Regions from separate parts of the Homo sapiens genome. Here all the other regions are linked to region 5. The links are contacts of gene promoters, found by promoter capture Hi-C in blood cells and fetal thymus (Javierre and others, 2016). All regions are on one chromosome and are shown on one strand. The core of a region is centred on a gene start or on the middle of the fragment in contact, and the rest is flanking DNA. Distances in the headings are between cores, read along the strand shown.

The links. Contacts are between HindIII fragments. The CHiCAGO score rates a contact against its expected background, and 5 or more counts as called.
Region 1: a fragment that was not itself captured here is called in contact with the fragment with the promoter of STIM2 in region 5 in 1 of 17 cell types (total B cells); the score reaches 5.7 in total B cells.
Region 2: a fragment that was not itself captured here is called in contact with the fragment with the promoter of STIM2 in region 5 in 1 of 17 cell types (fetal thymus); the score reaches 5.7 in fetal thymus.
Region 3: a contact is called between a fragment that was not itself captured here and the fragment with the promoter of STIM2 in region 5, in 1 of 17 cell types (fetal thymus). The highest score is 6.9, in fetal thymus.
Region 4: a fragment that was not itself captured here is called in contact with the fragment with the promoter of STIM2 in region 5 in 1 of 17 cell types (total CD8 T cells); the score reaches 5.9 in total CD8 T cells.
Region 6: a fragment that was not itself captured here is called in contact with the fragment with the promoter of STIM2 in region 5 in 2 of 17 cell types (fetal thymus and M2 macrophages); the score reaches 6.6 in fetal thymus.
Region 7: a fragment that was not itself captured here is called in contact with the fragment with the promoter of STIM2 in region 5 in 1 of 17 cell types (fetal thymus); the score reaches 7.1 in fetal thymus.

What each region holds. Positions count from the first base shown.
Region 1 is chr4:26,468,637-26,472,405 of GRCh38, reverse strand. No RefSeq gene overlaps it. Among named protein-coding and RNA genes, the nearest start is that of CCKAR, 20 kb to the left of the region's middle. The HindIII fragment of the contact is 7,217 bases long and covers 1-3,769 here.
Region 2 is chr4:26,597,985-26,601,535 of GRCh38, reverse strand. All of the region lies in intron 1 of TBC1D19 (TBC1 domain family member 19), which reads right to left. Among named protein-coding and RNA genes, the nearest start is that of TBC1D19, 16 kb to the right of the region's middle. The HindIII fragment of the contact is 2,827 bases long and covers 1-2,751 here.
Region 3 is chr4:26,425,697-26,429,279 of GRCh38, reverse strand. RBPJ (recombination signal binding protein for immunoglobulin kappa J region) reads right to left here. Exons shown (of 11, transcript NM_015874.6): 8 at 420-560. Among named protein-coding and RNA genes, the nearest start is that of CCKAR, 63 kb to the left of the region's middle. The HindIII fragment of the contact is 656 bases long and covers 1,277-1,932 here.
Region 4 is chr4:26,366,784-26,370,345 of GRCh38, reverse strand. All of the region lies in intron 1 of RBPJ (recombination signal binding protein for immunoglobulin kappa J region), which reads right to left. Among named protein-coding and RNA genes, the nearest start is that of RBPJ, 48 kb to the right of the region's middle. The HindIII fragment of the contact is 870 bases long and covers 1,834-2,703 here.
Region 5 is chr4:26,859,584-26,863,048 of GRCh38, reverse strand. STIM2 (stromal interaction molecule 2) reads right to left here and starts at 2,208. Exons shown (of 12, transcript NM_020860.4): 1 at 1,680-2,208. The coding sequence starts at 1,830. It overlaps STIM2-AS1 (STIM2 antisense RNA 1), which reads left to right and starts at 2,450. Exons shown (of 2, transcript NR_134674.1): 1 at 2,450-2,539; 2 at 3,021-3,425. RefSeq lists silencers at 1,512-2,081, 2,092-2,461 and an enhancer at 2,552-2,651. The HindIII fragment of the contact is 3,345 bases long and covers 461-3,465 here.
Region 6 is chr4:26,450,280-26,454,113 of GRCh38, reverse strand. No RefSeq gene overlaps it. Among named protein-coding and RNA genes, the nearest start is that of CCKAR, 38 kb to the left of the region's middle. RefSeq lists an enhancer at 705-1,243. The HindIII fragment of the contact is 306 bases long and covers 2,193-2,498 here.
Region 7 is chr4:26,405,761-26,409,142 of GRCh38, reverse strand. RBPJ (recombination signal binding protein for immunoglobulin kappa J region) reads right to left here. Exons shown (of 11, transcript NM_015874.6): 3 at 2,873-2,968. Among named protein-coding and RNA genes, the nearest start is that of CCKAR, 83 kb to the left of the region's middle. RefSeq lists an enhancer at 2,225-3,382. The HindIII fragment of the contact is 731 bases long and covers 1,271-2,001 here.

The DNA of each region.
Region 1 (3,769 bases), core at 805-3,304, 390 kb after region 5:
AGTGTTAAGAAAGAGCCTGACTGGAGCGAGGTTTCCAAGGATAGAGAGTGTCTTAGTTAGTTAGGGTTTCTATAACAAAAATATAGACTCGGTGGCTTAAACATTAGAAATTTATTCCTCACAGTTCTGAAGACTGGGACTTCCAAGATCAAGCTGCCAGCCAATTCAGTCCCTGGCGAGGCCCCTCTTCCTGGCTTGCAAAAGGATAGCTTCTTGCTGTGTCTTCACATGGTGGAGACAGGAATCATCTCTCTAGTGTCTCTTCTTATAAGGGCACTGGTCCCATTCATGGGACTCCACCCTCATGACTCAATTACCTTTGAAAGGCCTCCAGAGACCATGAAATTGTGGATTAGGGTTTCAACATATGAATTTGGGAGGGGACACAAGCATTCAGTTCACAGAAGAGAGGCAAAGAGGGATGGCTCCATTGATCCAGGAGACATCATAGGAAGTAGCCAGGCCTGGTCACCCTGGGGCAGAAGGAAGCCACATGGGCTATTCTGCTAGAGCAGGAGCTGACCAGGGAATGCGTCTTCACACCAGAACATGATGCAGTATTGGAGGTCTTCACAGAATGTGTGTGCATGGGAGAGTGGTCTCTGGAAAGCCACAAAGTTGCCCCAAAAGAGAAGGGCTCAGCATTTGCCAAAGGTCCTTTGACCATTGAAGAATTACAAATGACACCACTTTTGCCCCTTTACCACTGACCTCTCCTTCCATCCTCAAGAGGAAGAAATAGAACAAGGAAGAGAGAGAGAGAGAGAGAGAGAGAGAGAGAGAGAAAAGACTACTAGCTTCTTCTCATTGCAGATGCCTTGCCTGGACTTGTCTGATTTAGAGGAAAAGAGAGAGGCTTCAAACTGAATGTGAGATGAAAGTTTGGATTTGTATCATACTAAATACCTGAAGATGAAGTTGTCCTGATGAAATAGGCAGGAAAGATTTGGGGAAAGCTATCGGTTGGGCAGAGATATCATGTCAGGGGCAGAATATCTAACAGAGAGGGAATGAAGACAGAGGTAGAAGAAAAACAAAGCTGTTTCTTGATTGTTCCACACCTTTCAATAAACTAATTACATGTGAAGAGTGTCTGACAAACAGTAGGTGCTTAATGAGTGATAGCCATTGTAAATGATGTCTAAGTCACTAATTTCAGTTATTAACCTGGTCCAGCTGGTCTTTTTTATTTTTATTGAGAGCACTGTAAATCAGAATTAACTTTGTTACTTATAACCCAAAATGTCACAGTTGCTGACCAGTTGGCCTCTCCCCCTCCCAATTCTCTCTCTCCTCCACTTGACCCCACCCTCTGGTAACAGACTGGCCTTACCAATATGAGGTTTGGATCATTTTTCTCCCTGCCCAGTGGCTCCCCAGTGCTTAGTGGTTCGATTTCCTTAGCCTGGCATCCAGGTCCCCAGCAAGCAAGAGTCAATCTCCCTTCCCTATCAGTCAATTTCCTCTTCTTTTCAGAACAGAATTATTTGCTGTTCCCAAGCACTTCCTTGCATGCATGCCTCCCTCAATTTGGGGCACTCTCCTCTCTTTAGCACTTCCTGATAAAATCTTATTCTTCACAGCTCTGCTCACCTGTTAACTTCCCCATAAAACCTCCAAAATTCTCTATCAGAAAAGATGTCTGTTTTTTCTGAGCTCTCATAATGCTGTCTTTGTATATTTCTTGTCACCTAACAACAGCTCAGTCCCCCCACCCTACTCCTTATTTCTTGCTCATGAACTCCATAATGGTACAGTACAGGTATTGACAGTTGCTATGGTTTGAATGTGTTCCCCAAAAAGCATGTGTTGAAAACTTAATCCTCAATGCTGCAGTGTTGGTAGGTGGGGCCTAATGGGAGTGCTTGGGTCATGGGACCACTGCCCTCACAAATGGATTAGTGCCATTATTTCAGGAGTGGGCTCCTTATAAAAGGACAAGTTTGGCCCCCTCTTGCTCGCTCTCTCTCTCACCCTCTCTTTGCCCTTCCGACATGTTATAACTCAGCAAGAAGGCCCTTACCAGATGCAGGCCCCTCGGTATTAGACTTCCCAGTCTCCAAAATTGTGAGCCAATACATTTTTGTTTATTATAAATTACCTAGTCTCAGGTATGCTGTTATAGCAGTACAAAACAGACTGAGACAATGGCATTATGTTTAGAGAAAAAGAGCCTACGTCCAGGAGATAAATCATGATAAATCTGTGCCAGACATGATAATCTTATTCCCTTTTGCTAGTTATTGGTTGAGAGGTAGGTTTGTGTCCCAGTCTGGCCAGGGATGCTTAACAACTTGCTCTCTAATTGAAAAAGAAAAAAAAAATTCTAATTTATAGCTAGTTTGCTGATTTCTATTGTATAAATACTATCACAGACAATTTCAAGTCACCAGCATGGCCTCATTGAACAGGGAGCTGGGAGAGACGTGCTGTAGCCCATTATTTTATAGTATTTCCACCACGCAGATGCAAGAAACATAAATAACAAGAGCATAGATGATAGCTACCTGTAGTAAAATAATTAAAAAAGTGATGCTGATATACTTTGGATATTTGTCCTGGCCCAAATCTCATACTGAAATGTAACCCTCGATGCCGGAAGTGGGGCCTGGTGGAAGGCGATTGGCTCATGGGTGAGGATTTCTCATAAATGGTTTAGCGCCATCCCCGTGGTGCTATCCTCATAATAGTGAGTGAATCCTCACAATATCTGGTCATTTAAAAGTGTGAGGCACCTACTTCTCCTCTCTCCCTCTTGCTCCTGCTTTTGCCTGTACAGCCCGCAGAACTGTGAACCAATTAAAATTCTTTTCCTTATAAATTACCCAGTCTCAGATATTCCTTTATAGAAAAGCAAGAGTGGCCTAATATGGATGCATTTTGAGTATCAACTACCAAGTTTTCTGGAAAGTTAACAACTGGCCCTTACAAGCCAATACAAGCCAACCCTAAAACACCACTGGCTCTAGCCAATGAAATGTAAGAACTCTGCTTGAGGTTTCTGGGTTTATTCATCAGTGTTTGTTGCCTTGTGCTTCAATAACAAGCAACCCCCAAATCTAGCACAGAACATCGTACATGAAGGTGTCATGATGGCCTCGTGCACACCCATGCACAGAGAGACAATCGTGTGAACAGGCAGCAAGAGAGCGGCCAACTGCAAGCCAAGGAGAGGGCCCTTACCAGAAACCAACCCTGCTGACACCTTGATCTTGGATTTCCAGCCTCCAGAACTGTGAGATAATACATTTCTGTTGTTTAAGCCACCCACAAATATGCCTCTGCTCCCTGAAGGATGCAGGGTTCAAAAGTCCACTCATTCCAAAGGCCCAGAACCAGCCCAAGATGGTCAGAGAAGATGGAACCTTACTAATGCCCCTTACATGGCACTAGCAGGAACCACTGAAAACTTGAGCCAAGTCCTCACATCTGTTCTTTGACCTCTTCTTCATCAACTGCTTCTGTCTTTCTCTCCTGTTCTCTAATTTCAATGACTTTCCTCAAGCACAGAGGCAGCAGCTGCAACAAGAGTACAGCCAGTTGAGGCAAATATACAAGGTGGGCAAGAGAGAACACAAATGGCTAAGGGACTTTTAGCCCAGCTGAAAAATTCTCCAGGGGTGGAGCAAACAGATCCCAAGACCTAATTCTGCAGGTGTTTTCTTGGGCACCTTCCAGGTGTAAGGTTGCCAGATAAAATACAAAACGCCATTTCAATTTGAATTTCAGATAAATGGTGAATAATGTCTTAGTATAAGCATGTCTTGGG
Region 2 (3,551 bases), core at 89-2,588, 260 kb after region 5:
CATCTTGTCACCTTGAGTGCTATCCAAGACTTCCCCAATCTCTAGCCATTTCCTCTCAGTATATTTATACCTTATTCATTTGCATTCTTCTTTCAATATACTCAGTAACTGGCACATAGGAAGTGTTCAATAAATACAATGGAATACTATTCAGCCCTTAAAAAGGAAGAAAATTCCAACACACACTACAACATGAATGAACTTTGAAGCCATCAAGCTAAGTGAAATAAATCTTTAAAAAGACAGATACTGTATGTTTCCATTTGTATGAGGTACCTAAAGTAGTTAAATTCATAGAGACAGACCGTAGAACAGTGGTTACTACAGGTTGGTGGGAGTGGGGGAGAAGGAGAGTTATTGCTTATATATGTCTCTCTCTATGTATATATGTATATATATATATAGACATACACAATATATATAAAATATATAAACAAAAAGCTAAAACAGAAGTGATATTTTAAAAGGATATGTCCTTTCTCACATCAATCCCCGAAATATCCTTATCATGAGCTTAATTGTTTTGTACTTTTCTAATTTCTCTCAAGAGCCCAACCTACCACAGATGAGAGGCTCAATTAAAATATGTTGAATTACTACTATCTTTATTTCTTCCTAATACTTATGGTTCTTTCTAAAACTGTAGACTGGACTTGTTTCTGTAATCCTAGTCATCCCAGTGGACACACATTGTAGCCAGGAATAAGCTCTAGTTTCAGATGGAAAGTTCTGGCTCTGCAAAAGCTGACCATGCCTTATACTCAATCTGCACTGTATAATTTCAGCCCTGCTCTGGTTTCTCTCACCTGAGGATGGATCCCTCACTGGTTTTCTTTTGCTGACATCCCCAAGCTGACCCCCTTCTCTTCCAGCACTGGCTGTCTTGTCCCCTATTCATCCGCATCTCTATTCTTAGCCTCCTTTCGTGGTATACTCTATGCCTGAAAGTATTCACTTCACATTTAGTAACCAATTTTCCACCTTTTATTTCAACTTGGTCTTACCTAATTCAACCCTACATGACCTTCTATAAACAATGCAGTTTTCTCTAAAAGCTGAAATAAAACATGAAGAGATGTACTTAAACCAAGCAAACCCACATTTTAGTACTTCTCTTATCCCTTACATATGTATTTTCTATGGAGACAGGAACTTTCTTATTTTATAATCCTGTACACCATTATTCATTTCTTTACTGTGTTTAACTTTTCAGGATTAAAGGACAAACAGCAGCCAAAATAAATATGGGTAAGTATCACAGCACTCCATGGTTCACACCAAATGTAATCAGGGTTCTTGACTTAGGACAACAACCTATTAGTTGCATTATTCCTTCTCTCTTCAAAGCCTATCTTCTTTCAGCTTCCTTCCTTTTGCAATTCTATTATTTATAATGACAATCTGAGCAACAAAACATATTAAACACTTAATGGAATGAAAATAACATTTGGGGTATTACACAACATCCATTTGAAATACAAATAATGCATGATAACATAAAATAACATTGCTGATCTGATGCTAATCACCCCATCATCTAGAAGATGAGTGAGCAAATTCTTTTTTTTTTTTTTTTTTTTTTTTTGGAGAGACAGAGTATTGCTTTGTCGCCCAGGATGGAGTGCAGTGGCGCGATCTCAGCTCACTGCAACCTCTGCCTCCTGGGTTCAAGCAATTCTCCTGCCTCAGCCTCCTCAGTAGCTGGGACTACAGATGCACGCCACCATACCCAGCTAATTTCTTTTGTACTCTAGTAGAGACATGGCTTCACTGTGTTGCCCAGGCTGGTCTCAAACTCCTGAGCTCAGGCAACCCGCCCGCCTTGGCCTCCCAAAGTGCTAGGATTACAGGCGTGAGCCACTGCACTTGGCCAGCAAATTCAATTTTAAGATGCAGGTTGACTTCATAAAGTAACTCAGAAAACGAAAAACATAGCCCTTTTCTAGAGAACACAAAATTCCACACTCTCTTTAACAAACTTCAACACATAAAGGGATATATTAAAATACAGTCAACGTTTAAGAGAAGAGCTAATGGTGGGGGGTGGGGAAATCTAAAAATCACTTATATTTGGCTGTGAAATATTCTGTGTGATTTTATATTTCCAACTAAGTTGGGCCAACACTGCTCTAGCACTTTCTGGATATACCCAAACAGATAAAACGAAGGCAGTACAGAAGATGCTGGTGGCAGGAAAATGCCCTCTTGATTAAATTTTAAAAGGCTTGTAACAAACCACCAGTTGTTTAAAAGTATATTATTAAAGCAGATTGTAAAGTTGCCTTTAAAGAGTTATTTCTATTAAATGTCAGTGCTAATGGATATAAACTAAGGCAAAGTTGGTATCACAGATTCTCTTACAAGTCCAAGATTATTTTTAAAGATACATAATCATATTCTTTTAAAGTATGAATCTATAATATTATAGATCTGTCTAATAAATCTACATTGATTTTACAAATATACATATATATAATATAGATGTTATTTTATCTTAAGAACCAGCCAAATACTTTTTTGAGTTTCTTGTGTAATCATCGCCAGACTCCTGCTTTATCCTTCTTTCTATTCTTGCCCAACTTTCTATTTTGTCTATTTTCTAACTTTCTAATTTTCTATTTTTTCTATTTTTTCTTTCTATTCTATTTCTTTCTATCCTTGCCCAACTTTCTATTACTTCAAGGATTCACCTCCTGATGTTATATGTACAGATTCATAATCCTTTTTTGAAATCCTGAAACCTGAAAAGCTTTGCAAACCAAGTTTTTTCAAAACTGAATTAGTGGCAAAATCTTTCCTGACTTGAACTCATGTGATACTAAATTGACAGAAGTATATTTAGGGCCGGGCGCGGTGGCTCACGCCTGTAATCCCAGCACTTTGGGCGGCCGAGGCGGGCGGATCACGAGGTAAGGAGGTAGAGACCATCCTGGCTAACATGGTGAAACCCCGTCTCTACTAAAAATACAAAAAATTAGCTGGGCGTGGTGGCGGGCGCCTGTAGTCCCAGCTGCTCAGGAGGCTGAGACAGGAGAATGGCGTGAAACCGGGAGGCGGAGCTTGCAGTGAGCCAAGGTCGTGCCTCTGCACTCCAGTCTGGGCGACAGAGCAAGACTCCGTCTCAAGAAAAAAAAAAGAAGAATATTTAGTCATTTATCATACATAGTGTAAAAATTCATGCATTTTGCTGCAGAAATATTAATGTATACAATTACAAGGTACTGCCGGATCCTGATAGGGATATTAAATAACATAAAATATGCATGAATTACCTTTCTATAATTTAAAAAATAATATGAATTCCTTAATATCTGGTCCTTAGATTTTGCACAAGGGAATGTATGGACTGTATATACTTATTTGTAATACTATCATCTCTTCATGAGAGCAAAAACGATTAAAATATGGTTAAGAATGAATAATATTGACTAAATATTAATGCTGCAATATGATAAATAGCAATGTCTTATGAAATGTAAAATATATACAGATTTAAAATGCATGGCAAAATAACACACAAAGAAAGGGGTGAGTACATTGTTCTAAGTTCT
Region 3 (3,583 bases), core at 355-2,854, 430 kb after region 5:
CATGTCATCATTACTATCTTCGGAAACCACGACATAAATCTGATGAGATTTTGAGCCTTCACCCAGAAAAATGCTTTGTCTATACAATGTTTGCACACAATTTCAGAGGATTCAATGAGCACTGAAAATCTATTTTTGGATATCCTGAGGGGCTCTTTGTTCTTCAATTAAGAACCCTGGAACTAGATGTTAACTGTTTTCTCTGAGAACATTTTCATAATTTTGAGTTCTTCCTTGAGGAAGGATTGCTTGCATGTCTGAGGATTGTGTGTTAAGGATGCTCATACCTGAGATAAATATCTGTGTATAGCTTCATGTATTTGTATATAATTAACAGCAAATGAAAATTTCATATTTTTGCAAGCTGCTAACCTCACAGTTTGTACATTTTAGATTTCACCAGTAATTTAAAAACATACCTGAAATTGAATTATTCTTTCTTGAGAAAGGCACAAATACATTCTTTCTGTATCCTTAAGGTAAAATGCACATTTATGGAGTTGTGACACAGGATCATCTGCATCCAATAATGCGGTCTGCTTATCAACTTTCCTAATTATCTATATTTAACAATTAAGAAATAAAAGGTCATCCACACATGGAAAGGATTTTCCTTGTGTAAAACATCAAAAGTACATAGAAGCTATATACTGCATAATAATACATCACAGTTATTTGTCCTATGCCTACATATATAAAAACATTCACAAACAAAAAGACTAGGAATAAAAAACACTTTTAGATTGCAAGCATGTCAGAATGTAGAAACTGTTACCCTCTTCCCTGAACATCTAAAAAAAAAAAATCAGGCAGGCAGGCACTTGTTTTCTAGATCAGTGTTTTTCAAACATTAATGTGCACATAAATGAGCTGGGGTTCTTGTGAAAAACACAGGTTCTGATCTAGCAGGACTCTTGTGGGGCCTGATATTCTGCATTTCTAACAAAATCCCAGTTGATGTTAATGCTGCTGGCCTACAGACCATATTTTGAACAGCAAGTTCTAATGATATTTTCCAATAATATGCATAAAATGACAAATACTCCAACATCAAAGGGAAAAATCTCTAGAAGGCTACTGTCAGTGCAAACGTCTTATATCTATTATCCAAAACTTACGTATTTAAAAACATAACAAAATCAAACTCATTTTACAGATTACAAAATGGGCTTAGAAAGGTCAGACAAATTGCTCAAAATTACCAGTTTAGTAGCTGAAGGACCAGAATATGTCCTGATCCCAGGGCTGGCTGCCTGTCCAACTGATCTCTAAAGCTTATAACGCAACTAGTCTACAAAACACATGAATATCTGAAAGATAATACTATCAAACCCTATATGACACTTGACACCTAGAAGGTAATGGCTAAGTAGATGATCATGATGAAGAGCAAAATTTGACACAGAACTTTTACTCTGTTTCCTTTTCTATTGATCACTTCCAACAACATACAAACATAACTATCTCTCATCTCAAAATCAAAAGTAAAGAAAACACTGACTACATGCTCCTGTCCCTCCCTCTCACTACCTGTTTTTCTGCAAACGCCTCTTCCTCACTGTCCAATCTCCTGCAATCTCTCCAACCTTTTATCTCAAAGACGCCACTACAACTGCTTTTCAAAGCCACCAAGGATTTCCAGACAGATGCATCTCACGGCACTTTTCTGTCCTCATTTTACTTCATTTTCTCAGAAGCTCTCAACACATTTTGCTTTCAGGACCACAACTGCTCCAACTGACCTTTAAAATGCCCAGAGCTGAGTTCTCAGCCCTCTTTTCCTCTCTTTATAATCTATACTGTTTAAAAATTTAAAGGTTGACAACTCCCAAATTTATTATCTCCAGACTTCTCTCCTGCATTCAACTTGTATGTACACTTAACTACCTATTCAACATTTCCACTTACGATGTCTAACAGGCACCTCAAGCTTAGCATATCGAAAACAGATTTTTGGATTTCCTCCTAAACTTGATCCTTCCCCAACTCATCTAGGTCAATAAATGGCACTAGCATTCACTCAATCCAAAAACCTTAAGAGTCACCCTTGATGCCTTGCTTTCTCTCACACCCAACCATCCAATCTGCCAGCAAATTCTGTCAGGTCCACTTTCCAACAAATCAGTCACCCCTCACCACCTTAATACTATGATCCTGGGTCTAAGATAGCATCAACTCTTGCCTCAATTATGACAACAATCCAAGCACCTGTCTCTCTGCTTCCACGGCCGCATTGCTATGCTCTCTTCTCCACACAGCAGCCACACATATACTTCTAAACAAAAATAGGCCATCGTGCCCCGTTTAAAATCCTCCAGTGGCCTTCTAACATGCAGAGATAATATGAAGTCCTTACCCTAGATACAGAGAGGGATCCTACAAGGTCTTGCTTAGTGCTAACCTTACAGATTCAGTTCCTGCCACTTGACCTCTCCTCCCTCCGCTCCAGCTCCACTGGTTTCTTTACTAGTCATCATACATCCCCTGCCTTCAGTTCTGTACTTGTTCTGTTTGCCTGAAATGCTCCTCACTCAATTACCGGTTCTTTGACTTCATTCTGGGCTCTCTTCAAATACTGCGACTTCAAAAAGACTTCCCTGACCTCTCTAAGCGCTCCTCCAATTCTCTATCCCTTTATTATCTTGTTTTGTTTTTTCATCACTACATAAATCCTTTACATGGGTATTTGGCTTATCACTCTATCAAAATGTAAACTCAATGACGAGAGGCACTCGACTTTGCATGTCAGAATTCCTGTCATGAAACCCCTGGAAAGATTTATGTATCAGCGTCTTAATAATGGTACTGCAACTTTTTCTAATAAGTTAATTTTTCATTGCAACATTTTTATATAAAGCCATACAGTTTTGAGTGTAAAAACCTCAATTAATGACTTTCAAGCAAGGCAGGCTACTGGTACTTTACAAACAACTGTAAATGAAAACATTGTTTTAAATTTGGGTCTGTCTTCTAAGTGGTTTGTATTATAAACTATTGGTGATCAGAATCATCCTCCTAAGTTGTGCTTCTGCAGTACAAGCATTTAACACCAAAGCAAATGAACATCATCCTTGGAACAGAGGAAATGAATGAGAAGAGAAAAAAAATGAATAAATGCTGATTCAGATTTTTTGCTTGCTTCTGTCTCCTGCTCTGTTTTTCATGCCCTTCATTCCCTAACGTTACCCTTTTTATTATAATTTGTCTCAGCTGCAAAGCTTTACAGATTACTATTACTATACTTCATGTCTTCTAGCTTATTGCATTGACATGGGAAATAAAATCACCTTGTACAATCATGACAGAGGGTAAAAAAAAAAAACAGTAACAAAGAAATGAATCACTGGCTTAGAAAACTGTAGATCAAACCAGCCTCTGCTGAAATGACCCCAGAAAATATAAGCCAGTGGAATATTGCACCAAAAAGATAAATAGGAGGCATGTTTAGGAACATTAATACTAAATGTTCTTCTACTCACCCAACCTCTTCAGTCTGACCTTGAATCAAACTTACTCATAAATCCCCTTCATCTTGAATATAAGTAAATTATATTGTTTGAGAAAAGGAGAGGGAAAATTGGGA
Region 4 (3,562 bases), core at 1,019-3,518, 490 kb after region 5:
TTAAAATGTTAGGAGCTCAGGATATAAAGAAGAATTTCAGATTGAAAAGAAAACCTTAATTCTAAGTAAAAATTTGAACTTTGGAACAAAAATCAAGTTGAAAGGGAGTCATTCTAACTGTTAATTTTTCCTATTATTTATCAATGTTTTGGTTTGGTTCTAGCATTTCTCCAAAATTAAAACCACTGGTCCAGTTATTATATTTGACAAGGCCTTTATTCTGAAAACTACTACTCATCCTGGATCAGCTCTCTCCTTTTTGGACAATCTCCTAAGATCTAAGATTTATGCTATTCCCAGCATCCTCCTGACTTGATCCTTGTTGGTCAGATAACTTCTCACTTGACCTGCCCAGTTCGCTGACTCAAAAGCAATGTTCACATACTATTCTTTTACAGGCAGAATGTACAGCAAACTCTTTGGTTTGTTCAGGCTGCATGTAAATGAGGAATGGGAGGAGAAGAGAGAGAAAGGGGCTGGTAGGTTGGAAGAGAGAGGGAGGAAAGCAGAGAACACTGGAGTACAAAAGAGCAGTGAAAAAAAAGAGAAAGAAAAGATTGTTTGAGGGAGTGTCACAGCCACCAAGTTGAAGAGAAATAAAAGAGAGCAATGGAGTATCTAGTGACCATAAAAGGGCAACTGTCCACCTCCTAACAAACCAAATCTGGTCAGCCCCAAATATGGAAATGTTTTAGTTGAAATACAGAGCTTTTCTTCTGTGGAATATGAGCATAGATCACAATCAAATAATCTCACACTTGGATATCTACCACTGTGAGAAAAATCTGGTGAATTATTACATAAACTCTTTCCACATTTTGCTTCCTCAAAATCCAGGTTTTTCTACAAAAACAAACAAAGAAAAAATCCCAACACTTTTATAGTTATTCTAGAGCTTCCGTCTCTGTAAAATAGGAATGTTAATTGTTAGCAATCTGCAGAGCTATTGTGAAGACTGGGTAAATCATTTGGTAAGGGAAATCTTGTAAGCGCAATATTGATTCATTGTTAGCATAACACACTCAGATATTCTTGGCCTTCAGATGTACCAATCCCCACCTCACAAGAGTTCAGTGATGACAAATTTCTAGAAATTGAAATCATTTCAAAATAAGATTACCTTCTTATATATCTAGCTATTCTCTCAGTTTGTAAATTAAGAGGTTGGTAAATAAGAGTATGACCTGTTCTGCCATGACAAGATAGATGCATGTCTTAAAAACCTAGTAGTATCAAAAGTTCATTCATTTGGCTAATATTTGCTGAATACCTGTTATGACTATTCACTGTCCCAGGGGATGGAGTTACAGGAGTCAACAAAATAAGCAAAATCTGCTAATGAGGGTAGGGGAAAGAACAGATTTGGAAAGTAGACCAAGGATTGAAAATTGGCTCCCTACAGAGATAGTGACTGTTTATTTCAAATATGAATGCTTTCAGTGTGTTCTGCTTGCACCCAGTCACCCCCCATTTTATAAGCATATTTGTGTCATTTATCTCTGGCCTATCCCTGCCCCAGGGCTAGAATTTCTCACTCAAGTTAGTTTTTCCACAGAAAATTCAACAACAAAGGAGTTTATTTAAAGTTAAATTTCATGCACATTTGATTAATCTAGCTGCTTAGCTGCTGCCACCAACACTTCTACAGGCATTTTTAATCCCCTCACCACCCTTGGGTGCCATCTCTGGCTACTGATCTCAGTTTGGGGCCAACTAAACTAGAATGCAGTTTAGTTTCCTTCTAAAGTACACTCTAGGCGGAGAAATTTACCAAAGAAAAAGAATACACGCTGCTATCATGCATGATGACAACCAAAGGAAAGACACAAAGCTTTGAAGAAACAAATTCCACAGAGAGACAACACAAAACCTCGTGCTTCCAACAGGATAACCAGTATGAGGTGGAAAGCAGTGACAATGAAGTGAGTAAACATAACTTAAGGGGGAAAAAAAGCAATCCTCTTACAATGCCAAAAAGCCAAAACAACGCTATGGAAAAGAGTAGGAAGAGTTGGATAATCTGGGAGAAGACAAGGGGTTAATGTGGAATAGGGGGAATCTGGTGAAACAAAGCAACAGAAAAAAATGAATTCAATTCTTCCATACTCTGAATCCATATGTTTTCATTTACTGCCTCCACCACTAAAGATGTATGCCTGCACACATCTGTACAAAGACAAGCAACCATCATCAGGGTAGTTAACACACTGATTGGGAGAGGTTATTTATCTTCTGTAATTTCAAAACGTGATTTCTGAAGAGCATATCATGCCCAATTCAGAGAACTGAACTATGTACTTTGACTAAATTTCCAAGAACTTGCAGAAAAAGATGAATTATGCATATTATCTTTTGTCCTCCTCTTTTGGCAAATAATTCTTCCATTTTTCAACTCCCAAGTGTAGAAAACTAATGTACAAATTCCACTGCTGTGAAACAATTTACCAGAAGTCTTCATCTTTTCACTGTTTTCTAAGGAGAAAGAAACTATATTTTAGACAATCTTAAAATATACATATGCTGATACCACCCTGCTTTGAAGCCTTATTTATTTTAAAATATTCACCAGAAACTCTGTGATCATCCTCAATAAATCTATAAAGCAAACATCTGCTGTTATGAGGACACTGCAGTAGGCACAGGAACTAATCCAAGAAAAATAAAATTTAAAATGTTACTGAAATCTTCACAAAAACAGAAGCTTTAACATTTGAACATTTAACTGCCTTCAATATTTGTAATGTATTGGATTTATGCTTAATTTTTTGCAACTTTAAATTTTATATTTGCCTTCTGAATTGAAGAAGCACCTATTATACAAACAAGTCCTAACATATAAAAAGTGAAACTGAGAGGTTTTATTTTTTATTTTTTTGAGACAAGAGTCTTGCTCTGTTGCCCAGGCTGGAGTGTAGTGCCATGATCTTGGCTCACTGCAACCTCCGTGTGCTAGATTCCAGTAATTCTCCTGCCTCAGCCTCCCAAGTAGTTGAGATTAACTGCATCTGGTTAATTTTTGGATTTCTAGTGAGATGGGGTTTTCCCATGTTGGCCAGGCTGGTCTTGAACTCCTGACCCCAGGTGGTCTGCCCACCTCGGCTTCCCAAAGTGCTGGGATTACAGGCGTGAGCAACTGCACTTGGCCTGAACTGATAGGTTTTAGCGTGCATCATCATTTTATTTGTATTTTCTTTTTATTTTATTAATTAATTTATTTTTTTGAAACAGAGTCTCACAACTGTCGCCCAGGCTGAAGTGCAGTGGCGCGACCTCAGCTCACTGCAACCTCCACCTCCAAGGTTCAAGAGATTCTCCTGCCTCAGCCTCCCGAGTAGCTGGGATTACAGGCGCCTGCCACCATGCCTGGCTAATTTTTGTATTTTTAGTAGAGATGAGGTTTCACCATATTGGCCAGGCTGGTCTCAAACTGGTGACCTTGTGATCCACCTGCCTCGGACTCCCAAAGTGCTGGGATTACAGGCGTGAAACACGACGCCCGGCCTATTTGTATTTTTTTTTAAACTGCATGAGTCTCTTACATCAATGCAAAGCAAGGGTAAAT
Region 5 (3,465 bases), core at 959-3,458:
ACTAAATTTTCTGAATTGCTTGCCTTTTTACCAATTACTTTTTCACAGAGCATTAGCCAATTATGTATTAACCACATTTTTCTGCTCGAGAAACCTAGAACCACTTATACCTTCTAGAAGCCTAAATATTCCTGCTCCTTCCCTTCCTGCATGAGGCATTAAATCTTCAAATTATAGTCTTATTTATCAACTTTCCTAATAATCACTATTCTTCACTATACTGTTACTTGCCACATTTTTATTTGGAGAATAAATACTATTCAAGCATAAAGCTGTCTGACCTATCTTCTCACTCAAACTGTACTATGCTCCTAATACTGATTATTCTATAATCACTTTATCCCAGTTACCCAATTGGTAGGTTTGATGTATCAAGTTCCATTTAATAGGGCTTGATATGCTTCAGGGTAAAGTTAAACATGCTGACCATTATGTTCTATACTCTACATCCTCCAAAGCTTTTAAAGTTTACCAACATCCTTCTTCTCTCTAGAATAGTAAATATCCTATCATAGAAATCAGAGAAACTGCTTGGCTTTAAAGAATACAGTTCCTGAGCACTTGTCAGAGAAGCTGTTAGTAACTTCCAGACGCCCGCAGGACTATCATTTTGGTTAAATTAATCACGGGTCATCTTCTGCCACTTTAAACTTTTTAGTCTTACAATTATTGTAGGAAATCTACAGATCTACTTTAAAAATAAGTGAAATACTAAAAAAAAAAAAAAAAACCATTATTTTAGCTCCATTACTTTTCCCAAAGAAATCATTTCAGGGTCCTTATATAATAACTTTTACTTAAACCACAACTGATCAGTTGTACATAACACCGGAAGGCTTTAAAAAGGATACAATTCTGCACTTAACCTTACAAAACACGTTTCCAAGTTTTCAATTATGAGATCGTTCTATATATTAAAAAAAAGGTGCTAGTGCAGTCTATCAGAACTGTGCTGCCAGCTGCAAGCCCCGAGTATGCTGCACTTTGCAAATTTTAGGTATAATTTCTGGTTACCTGCTGAGGTTTCTACACCCTTTGTCACCCAGTGATGCTCCCACCACCAAACACTTTCCATCACCACTTAAAACGGCCTCCTTCCACCCCGCAAAAAATGCACTGTAAACTTAGGCATTTCTGCATACTAACACGGAACCACTAATATCACTAGGTATTATGGCTCTCAAAGAATCCCCTTTAGCAGGCTCCCCTGGGACGCTGTGCTCAAGCGGAGCTTTGAACCGGTGAGACTCGCTGCCAGCTGCCTTTGCAAAAGCAGCACCAGAGGTAGACTCAATACCGCAATGCTGCTGCTGACTTTTTCTAGCAGCCTCAAAAAAAAAAAAAAAAAAAAAATCAGCCCAGTCCCCTGCAGACCCTGCTGGCACTTCTGCAGCACGAAAGAGAAACCACCGCATTGCTCAGCTTGGAAGATCGGAGAGCCCGACTGAAGGGAGGGGAATCAGTGCCGTCGAGAGGCTCGGCGAGGGCGGGGTGTCGGGGTGAAAAGGAAAGACGTCCGGAGTGCAGGGGACCGCGACGAAGCAGCAGGCAGGGCTCCGCATCGCGCCCTGGCCGGAGCCGCGGAATAGCGGACGTCCGGCGGAGATGCTGACCTCTGCACGGGTTGGGGGTCCCATCGCTGCCGGCCGAGCCCCGCCCGCCGCCCCCCGGCCCCTCACCTGTCATGAGCGCCGGGCTATCGCCGGCCGCCGCGGCGGGAGAGGAGGCGGCAGTTGCGGCAGAGCCAGTCGCCCGCCGCCCGCGGAGGTGCCGGGGCACAAGCTCGCATCCGTCCGCCGCTCCGGCTACCAGCAGCCCGAGCACCAGCAACGCAGCCCAGCGCCGCCGCCGCAGCAGCCAGCCCCACGCTGGGCCAGGAGTCGAGGCGGGATGAAGGCGCCGAGGAGAAGCCGGGTGAAAGCGCAGCGGCGCCCCGGCCGCCTGCAGCTCGCCGGCTCCGCGAGGCGCCACCACCGCCGCCGGCGACTCCTCCGGCCGCCCCCGCCGCCTCAGACACGGGCTCCCGCCGGGCGCCAGCCTGGTCCCATCGGCACCGGCGGCCTCCGGAGCTCTGATCCCGGCTGCGTTCATTGGTTCCGGTTATTTAAAAAAAAAAAAAAAAAAGGTGGGGGGTAGAAAGGTACGGCGTCTTCAGGCGGTGCACGACACCCGCGCTGCTGCTGCGGCGAGACCGGGATCCGCTGCTCTGGCGCCGCCAAACACCAACCCCAGCTCCCGCGCCGCCGCCGCCGCGGCGCATCCCCCCGCCCCCTCCGGCCCGCGCTGGTCGTAGTACCACGCTCCGCCGGGACGCCTCCCTCCCCTCGCACATTCGCTCGCATACCAATCCCCCGCCTCCCTCAGGCTCTCCACGGCGCAGGCGCGGCGCTGCTGTACTGCGCGTGCGCGGCATCCCAGCCCCGCCCCGGAGGCGTTCCTAGACGGACGGTAGTACCGTGGGGCGGCTGATAACGCTTTAGCGAGCCGCGAAGATAGGAGGCGGGGAAGAAGGGGGACGTGTACCTCTCCCTCATTCACGGTACCACCGCGAGGGGGAGTGGGGGGCTACAAGGGGACGGAGAGAAGAGTCCAGACGTCCCACATCCTGAGGGCGAGTTTCAGCCTCGTAGAGGGCAGCGAAAGTAATTGCATGGATCAGGAAAATCTTGCAATCGGAAAACAGCAGCGTCCCCGTAATTTCAATATAGGTGGGGCTTACAAGTGGCTGGCTGTTTAGACGCGGTTAGCATAGCTTAGCGTTTTATTTACTTGCCAAACATTTCACAAAGCGCGTGCTATGTGTGAGTGTACCAGGCATTGCTCTAACCGTTTTACACATTTACATGCTATAACTCCAAAATTATCGTTACCCCCTTTTACGAATGAAGAGACTAAGACCTAGAAATGTGAAGTAAGTTGTCCCCAATATCCCACAGCTAATTCATGGGAAATGAGCGAGATTTAGCAGCCACTGAAAAGGCCTATTTAAGAGAATTTACTTTAGCCTCTGACTCTCCTAGGTACATTTACCTGAACTCATCACCTTCCCACCCCCATCCCATCGACTCTGTGCTGTATCCTGAACCGGCTGACAGAACAATGATGTAGACTTGACTTGTTTTCGCCAACCTGGAATGAAGCAAAGCTCTTGTGCACCCAAGATCTGCTCTCTGTTGTAAATCCTGTTCAGACCTGGTCTAATTGGTTTGAATAAATAAAGAACCGGAATCTTTCTCATCCAAACTAGTTGCCAGCATATTTTTAAGGCCACCTCCCTTCAAATTTAAAAGGAAGTGTTGAATGTACTGTCACTATAAATTAAAAGCCCTGGAAATTCACACGCAAGGAGGCATTCTTTCTCCCAGGGGCACAAAATTGTTTAAAATTTGCAGATAGGGTTATTAAACACGAAGATCCTTTTGCTATTGGGTTTTGTTGGTTTCATTCTGCTTATTGGTTTGTTTG
Region 6 (3,834 bases), core at 1,096-3,595, 410 kb after region 5:
AAAGCCTTAATTACATCTGCAAAGACCCCTTTTCCAAAAAAGGTCACATTTACAGCTTCCAGGAATTAGCACGCAGATATAACTTTGGGAAGAGCCGTCACTCCACCCACCACACATGGATAAGCCACAGTTTGTTTATTCTTTTGCCAGTTGATGGGCATCTGGGTTATTTCCAGTTTGGGGACATTATAAATACAGCTGCTCTAAACATCCACTGTTCTTTGCAGGAACCCATATTTTCATTTCTCTTGGCTGTGGGATTAGGAAGCATTCCTTCACTCTGTAACATATAAGGAAGGTGCTGCAAAAAAATGGAAGTGCATTAGTTGGGTGTGGTGGCGCGTGCCTGTAATCCCAGCTACTTGGGAGGCTGAGGTACACGTATTGCTTGAACCAGGGAGGTGGAGCTTGCAGTGGGCCAAGATTGCACCACTGCACTCCAGCCTGGGCAACAGCGAGACTCTGTCTCAAAAAAAAAAAAAAAAAAAAAAAACAAAAGGAAGTGGCCCATCTCTCTCTGCCTATCCCAAGTGGCCTTGCCCTGGGGCTTTGGTTCCACAGCTCATAGCACACTTCTTCCCTACCCTGGCTGCAGGCATGTTCAGGTCCAGTCACCTGCCCTGCTGCCCCTGCTCCTGCCCACACACCCCTGCACATCCACAGTCCAGCACCGTCCGTTTACACAAATGGGCTTCTACAGAGGAGGAGCTGGAGCAGGGAATGGAGACAATCTCATTTCCTGGGCCTGCTTCCTCGTGTGCCAGGGTTCAGGCTCAGATGTGGCAGGTTCTCTTTGTCACAAGCCCTGACTCACGAGACCTCGGTGGCCTCGGGAAGCAACAGGTATAGGGGTATCATGCTGCTGTGTGGGCCTCTGGCAGCCCCCCTGTGACCACAGCCAGGCTGACCCAGACAGACTAATGGGAGATTTAAAAAAAAGTCAAGGCACACTGCTGAGATGCAATTTTATAATCAGCCTGTAACTTGATTATCTCAAAAATAAATGAACAATCAATACCGCTAATCTCAGCGTATTCCCCTGCTGAGACAGGAAACTTGAGCCTGGCTTGTGTTTGGCTACCCATGTCCCTCTTCTGGTTCAAAGGAGTCTTCTGTTTAATGTCAACATTTGCTTTTGTACCTTTTTATGTATTTTCATTACTTGCTTCTGCTTGTCCTTGCTTTGCGTGAGAAAAACCCAGTGCGGGGGCCCTTCTAGTCTAGCTGGTTCCGCATTTGTGAGATCCTGCACACCTGTGTGACCCTCAAACTCTGACTTGTCTCACGCTGATTAGGACACATCCAGGGGAGGAAGGAGTCAGTGAGCTTGTTTAGAAACATGGCTTGCTGATGGCCACACCTGTTCCCCAGGGAAAGCTGCCTCCTAATGGGCAGGTGAGAAGGCTGGTGAGGGGAGGAGGGGCAATAAGCCCTGATGCATCCTCCATTCCGGTTCCATTATTGACTCAGGGCTCTTTAAATTCTACGTCCTTGACTTTCTGGCTCCATCACCAGCAGTAACTCAGCCTGTCTGTGCTGTGTATCGTGGAAGGCTCCACTTCATCCTTTTCCCCCCAGGATTCATTCCCTCTACTAAAAATCCCCCTCGTTAGCCTTCTGTGGCTTGAAATGCCTCGGTGTTTTGCAGGGATTCAAATTCCTAGCACAATCTCCCTTGAGCAGAGCGTCTGTTTCTACAGCAAAGGCAGAGAGATCTATCTTAACTTCCTCCCAGCTCAACTTTTATATTCTCGGCTACCCCAGGAGCTTCCTGAATTTTATGCAGCTTAATTCATGATGATAAACATGGGTTCTGGGAGGCTGAGAACAGGGAGCATTCACCCTTCTTACTAGAGAATACAGATGGCTGCTCAGACATGGGTGAAGGCCCCTCACCTCCTCCACCAAGGGATAAGTCTCAGTAGGGTGAAAATTCAGCCACCTTCCTTCCCATGTGCAGGTCTGCCTTCCACCCCAAAACACAGCTGAGTTTCCACATTGCCCAGATCAAACCTAGAATTAGCTGAGGGTCAACTTCATGCCAGGCACTTTTCATATTCAGTTTTTTTATGTTTATCAGCAACCTCAATAAGGCAGATAACATTACCCCATTTTACAGGAGGAAACTTAAGGTTAGAGAAATATAATAAAGTGAGCTGTCCAAAAACCACAGAGCTGGGAGTGAGGAAGCTTGAATCTGATAAAGTTCAAAGATATGTGCCTCTCAGGTTCATGTTCCTTTCCCATACCATGCTCCAACGGCCCCTACAATTCCCCAGCTCTCACATCATTGACATCGTCCCCTTAGTCACATCATTTAGCTTCTCTGTGCCTCAGTTTCCTCATCTATGAAATGGGTATAAGAAGTCCTGCTCTCCGGAGTTGCTGTAAGTTTTAGAAATGCAATCAGGCAGGTAAAGTATTTAGCACACTTTCTGGCACCTTAGGTGTTTAGCAAGTAGTGATGATGATTATTTTCTAGTAGCAGCATTGAAGCTTTTGATAGCAGTCATAGATCATAGAAACTTCCAGCCAGAAGTCACCTTTGAGCCCATCTATCACAATCTTCCCCTTTACAGAAGAAACAGAGGCCAGAGTGTCTAGCTGACCTTCCTAAGCTCAGAAGGTGAGGGGCTGAAATGCAGGCCTGACTTGGGAAAAATAAAACAAACAAAAAAACTGTTTACGCCTGTCCCCTGAGCTGCCTAGCTGTATTCTGGGTCGTTTGGTCTTTTTTTCTTTTTTTTTTTTTCTTTTGGTGTATGGGCTGGTGGGCTGGGAGGTGAGTGCAGGAAGATACAAATCACAATTGAAAAAAAAGTGGCAAAGGAAAGGTAGTTACAGGCTAACACCCCTAGACTGCTGGTTCTCAAAGTGGGGTCTCTGAATTCGCATCAGCTCACCTGAAACTTCTTAAACAGTTTCTTGGGCTCTAATCCAGATATCCTGAATGAGAAACGCTGGGGAAGGGTAATCTGAGTTTTAACCCTCAGGTGATTCTGTTGCAGGGTCATGTTTGAGAACCGTCACCTAAGGCCAAGGAAGGAAAATAACTGGTGTCTGTGCATAGTCTCCATCTCACACACCAGGCATCACTGCTCATAATGCCCTTTAGTTAACCGCAGATGCAGCCTCTGAATCCTTGTTTTTAAGTTCTGGGATACATGTACAGAGCGTGCAGGTTTGTTACATAGGTATACATGTGCCATGGTGGTTTCCTCCACCTATCAACCCATCATCTAGGTTTTAAGCCCTGCATGCATTAGGTATTTGTCCTAATGTTCTCCCTCCCCTTGCCTCTGACCCTCCGACAGGCCCCATTGTGTGATGTTCCCCTCCCTGTGTCCATGTGTTTTCATTTTTCAACTCCCACTTACAAGTGAGAACACGCGATGTTTGGTTTTCTGTTCCTGTGTTAGTTTGCTGAGAATGGTCCTTCTTGACACACAGCACTCCTGACAACCATCACCACTACGGGCCACAGGGAGGCAATGGAGATAGTCATGTGTTAATCCACACAGAGAAAGAGTCACCTCCCTGGACTCAATTATCCATTCCGGGAGCAACTCCTGACATTTCTGCAGTCATGTTCAAGCCCAGAGCCTGGTACAGATCTGGGCCTGTTCCAAGAACTTGGTTTTCTTAACTGTGCCCTGTCTCCTTGAGTACTGGGCTTCCCTTGCAAAAGCAGGAGCAAAACTAAAACAAACATGGAATGGAGAGCAGCTCAACTGGGCGAGGCTGGGTTTGATCAGCAGCCGGGCTGTGGACCAGCTCAGAGGCCCTAGGTGAGTCTCAAGCCTCACCTGTAGCTCCCCCGTAACAATGAAAACC
Region 7 (3,382 bases), core at 387-2,886, 450 kb after region 5:
CTAGTAAAGGTCCTTTTGCATAAAACCTAGCACACAATAGCCAATCAGAAATAAAGAATAAGTGAATTCAATTGTACTAAAATGCATCTTCAAAAATCCAGAGAAAAGAAAAGCAGCTTGCCTAAATTTGAAGCTATATGATAAACACACATCTATTCATAATTCAATTGGGCTAGCCCAATCTCACCTAGGTAATGGAAAAGGGTTAGTCCTAGGCAAAGTTAAGTTTACAAAGTTTAAGTATTTAAAGGATCTTTTCCTCCTCAATCCCTGCTCTAGATAACCAACACTCAAACGCAAATGGAATGGTATGGCAATTAGGGTAGTAAAAAGGGTAAATATTTAAAATTAGGCCCTCAAGAGTTCCAACCCTAGCTCCACAGATTCCTAACTAATGTCAACCTGGACACATTTAAAGTCTCTGATTTTCAGATTCGTTGCCCACAGAATTTGGATCATAACATGACTACTTTACAAAATTGTTACGAGGATTACAACTTTAAAATATTTATAAAGCACTTTGGGAATCATGTCTGGCTCATGATTGGAGCCAATATGAAACTGTTTCTACCTCGGATTCACTATGAGGTGCACAGCTGGCCTTTTAGATTCTTCCTCCATAATGATGGGTGTTAACTTTTTCTGTTTTGCTTAAAAAGCAGAAAACTTGCTATAAACACACACTAAATTTTATTTATGAAAAAAAAAATACTGAATTTCTAATATCAACTTCGTGGGAAAAAAAAAAAGGACCACTAATTTGAGTTGGTACGCTATGTCCCAAACTACAGATACCAACTTCTTCCCATCTTTAACCCTAAATCAGTGTTTAAGTTGTATTAGTAAAGTACGATAAAATAATCAGAAATTTAGTAAGCCTGAATAACAGTACCTGGCAGTATGAATCTTAAATATTGTTTTCACTTGTTCATCTTTGAGGATTAAAACTACCAATTAAATAGCTTTACCTTCTTGGCCAAGCACGGTGTCTCATGCCTGTAATCCTTTGGGAGGCTGAGGCAGGCGGATCACTTGAGCCCAGGAGTTTGAGATCAGCCTGGACGGCATAGTGAAACCCCGTCTCTATAAAAAATACAAAAATTAGCTGGCCATGGTGGTGAGTGCCTGTAGTCCCAGCTACTCAGGTGGCTGAGGTGGGAGGACCACCTGAGCCCAGTAAGTGGAAATCATACCACTGCACTCCAGCCAGGGCAACAGAGACCCTGTCTCAAAAAAAAAAAAAAAAAAAAAAAAAAAAAGAAAGAAAGCTTTACCCCTCTTTTCAGCTCAGATCTAGTCAGCTTCAAGGAACTTCCTAAAAATTCTCTTTTAACATGTAAATTAATTTAATCACATACATATTACATTTCCCTTCTCTTAAGCATAAGCTGAGGTTTCCTTTATGTCACAATCTCTAAGAATTCTACTCATTCCTTTCACAACAATCCCAAAACCTTAGTTTTCATTCCTTTTCTCTTCAGTTGGGTACCTTTCTAGCCAATTAAAAAACCTTTGATCTTTCTCCATAAGCAGGCTTTTTCCATGGAATGCTTAACCAAAAAATGCTGTTTGAAAGACAGACTCAAGAAACTATTCAAAGAAAATTCCAGGAACCAAGTGAAGAAACAACAATGAAAGTCCCCAATTAAACATAAAAAATGCGGAAATTTATAGAATACCACAATAAATAATTTTTTAAAAATCACCTTGTTGTAATTTAATTTTGGTTAATCTACTTTATAGGTAATTTCTGTTGAGTCCACATTCAAGTAGTATGAGAGTATGAACCCAGTTTTGCTGTTTCTTCTTAATAGCAACCCAAACAAGAATAGGATCAAGAGAGAGGGCCAGGAGTTTTCTTTATAATCATTCCATAGCTCAATTAACCTAAGCTCAAGACAGTTTTAGGATCAAGAGCTTATTCAGCCTTTTCCTTTGCAAAACGGTACTTTTGGGGTCACATTTGCGTAAAAAACTACATTTTCCACCAAAAAGAAAGCTTCTTTGTGAATAAGCTAATGTATCACATAAGTATTTCGGGGACATTATGTAGCCCAAAAGAAAAACTGTGGATTATTTCATTTTGTAAGATCAGGGATTTATTAACCAGATGACCTTTATTAAATTACCCTTCTGGCTTGAGTGTATGTAGAAAGTAGAAAAGTTCCACCTTCAAAGCTCGTCTTGGTTTGAAAATAAAATAACAGACACTAGAAATCATAGCTTCTTACTCTAAAGCCTCCTATCAACTATCAGTTCTTACACTTTAGCCCAATTAGTTGCTTTGGCTTATTCAGGCATGTCTGGGCAGGCCCAGGCAAGTCTTAGCTCATAGCTTATGCCCCTTCCTTATTTGGAAATGTTATTGCTTTCTTAAACCTTTTGTAAGCAACTTCCTCTCTTCTTTGTTCTCCCTTGCACTTAACGTATTTAGGAAAGTTTTATGTTAGTAGCAAATCAGGTATCAGTTTAATACTGTGAGGTCCAGCTCCAGCCAATGGATGCAGGACACAGCAGTAAGGATGACCCAAATGCGTAAGGGACAAATATGTCTGCTTTTCCTTTGTTCAAGTGTGCTCTCTCCATTGTTCCATCTGCGAGGGGCACCCTTTCTGCAGAAAGTAAAGACTGCCTTGCTGAGAGGTCCTCTGTCTCCATGCTGACTTTTCTTCACAGCACCAATTATCTATTCCTAACAGTATACCACAATTCACTTTGTTTCTCCCCTTCAGGAGACAAATCCCCTATTTTTTATTTTGTACTAGCAAATGAACCCAGTAATAGAAGCCATCCTCTGACATGTATATTAATACATAATTGGCAAATTCATGTGGTAACTACAATTAACTATCCACCAGAAAAATAATCTTACCTTTTTTCATTTCCATATGACTTCTGTGCAACTTTTGCATGAAGAATAAGTACTGTTTGATCCCCTCGCTCTTTTAAATAATTTCGCATAGCTTCCCTAAAAACAAATACAAATATTACTGTTACAGAGGTGAAATTCTTGATGAAATCTTTCATCATTACTACGCTCTGTAATGAGAGGAATGCTTATAAATATTTTTTAAATAAGCAAATCTTAAAAACAAAAACAATAAAGCAAAGTAAATCCATAAATTAAATTGGAAGATTATACAATGATACAATGAATACTGCTCATTTTCAATTCTATTCCTTGTTCTTTAAAAATAAGAAACTGTCTCTCATTCTTTGGAATTTATGATGTAACTCAAACCACAATTACACCTTCCAGAATAACTAGAATCAACATATACACTGCTAATGTGGCTCTAAAATATTATAAAGTTAATAAAATGCAGTAATTTTGTAGTTTAATAATGTAATTCCCTTCCTCAGTTTCCCTACCCCAGCTATC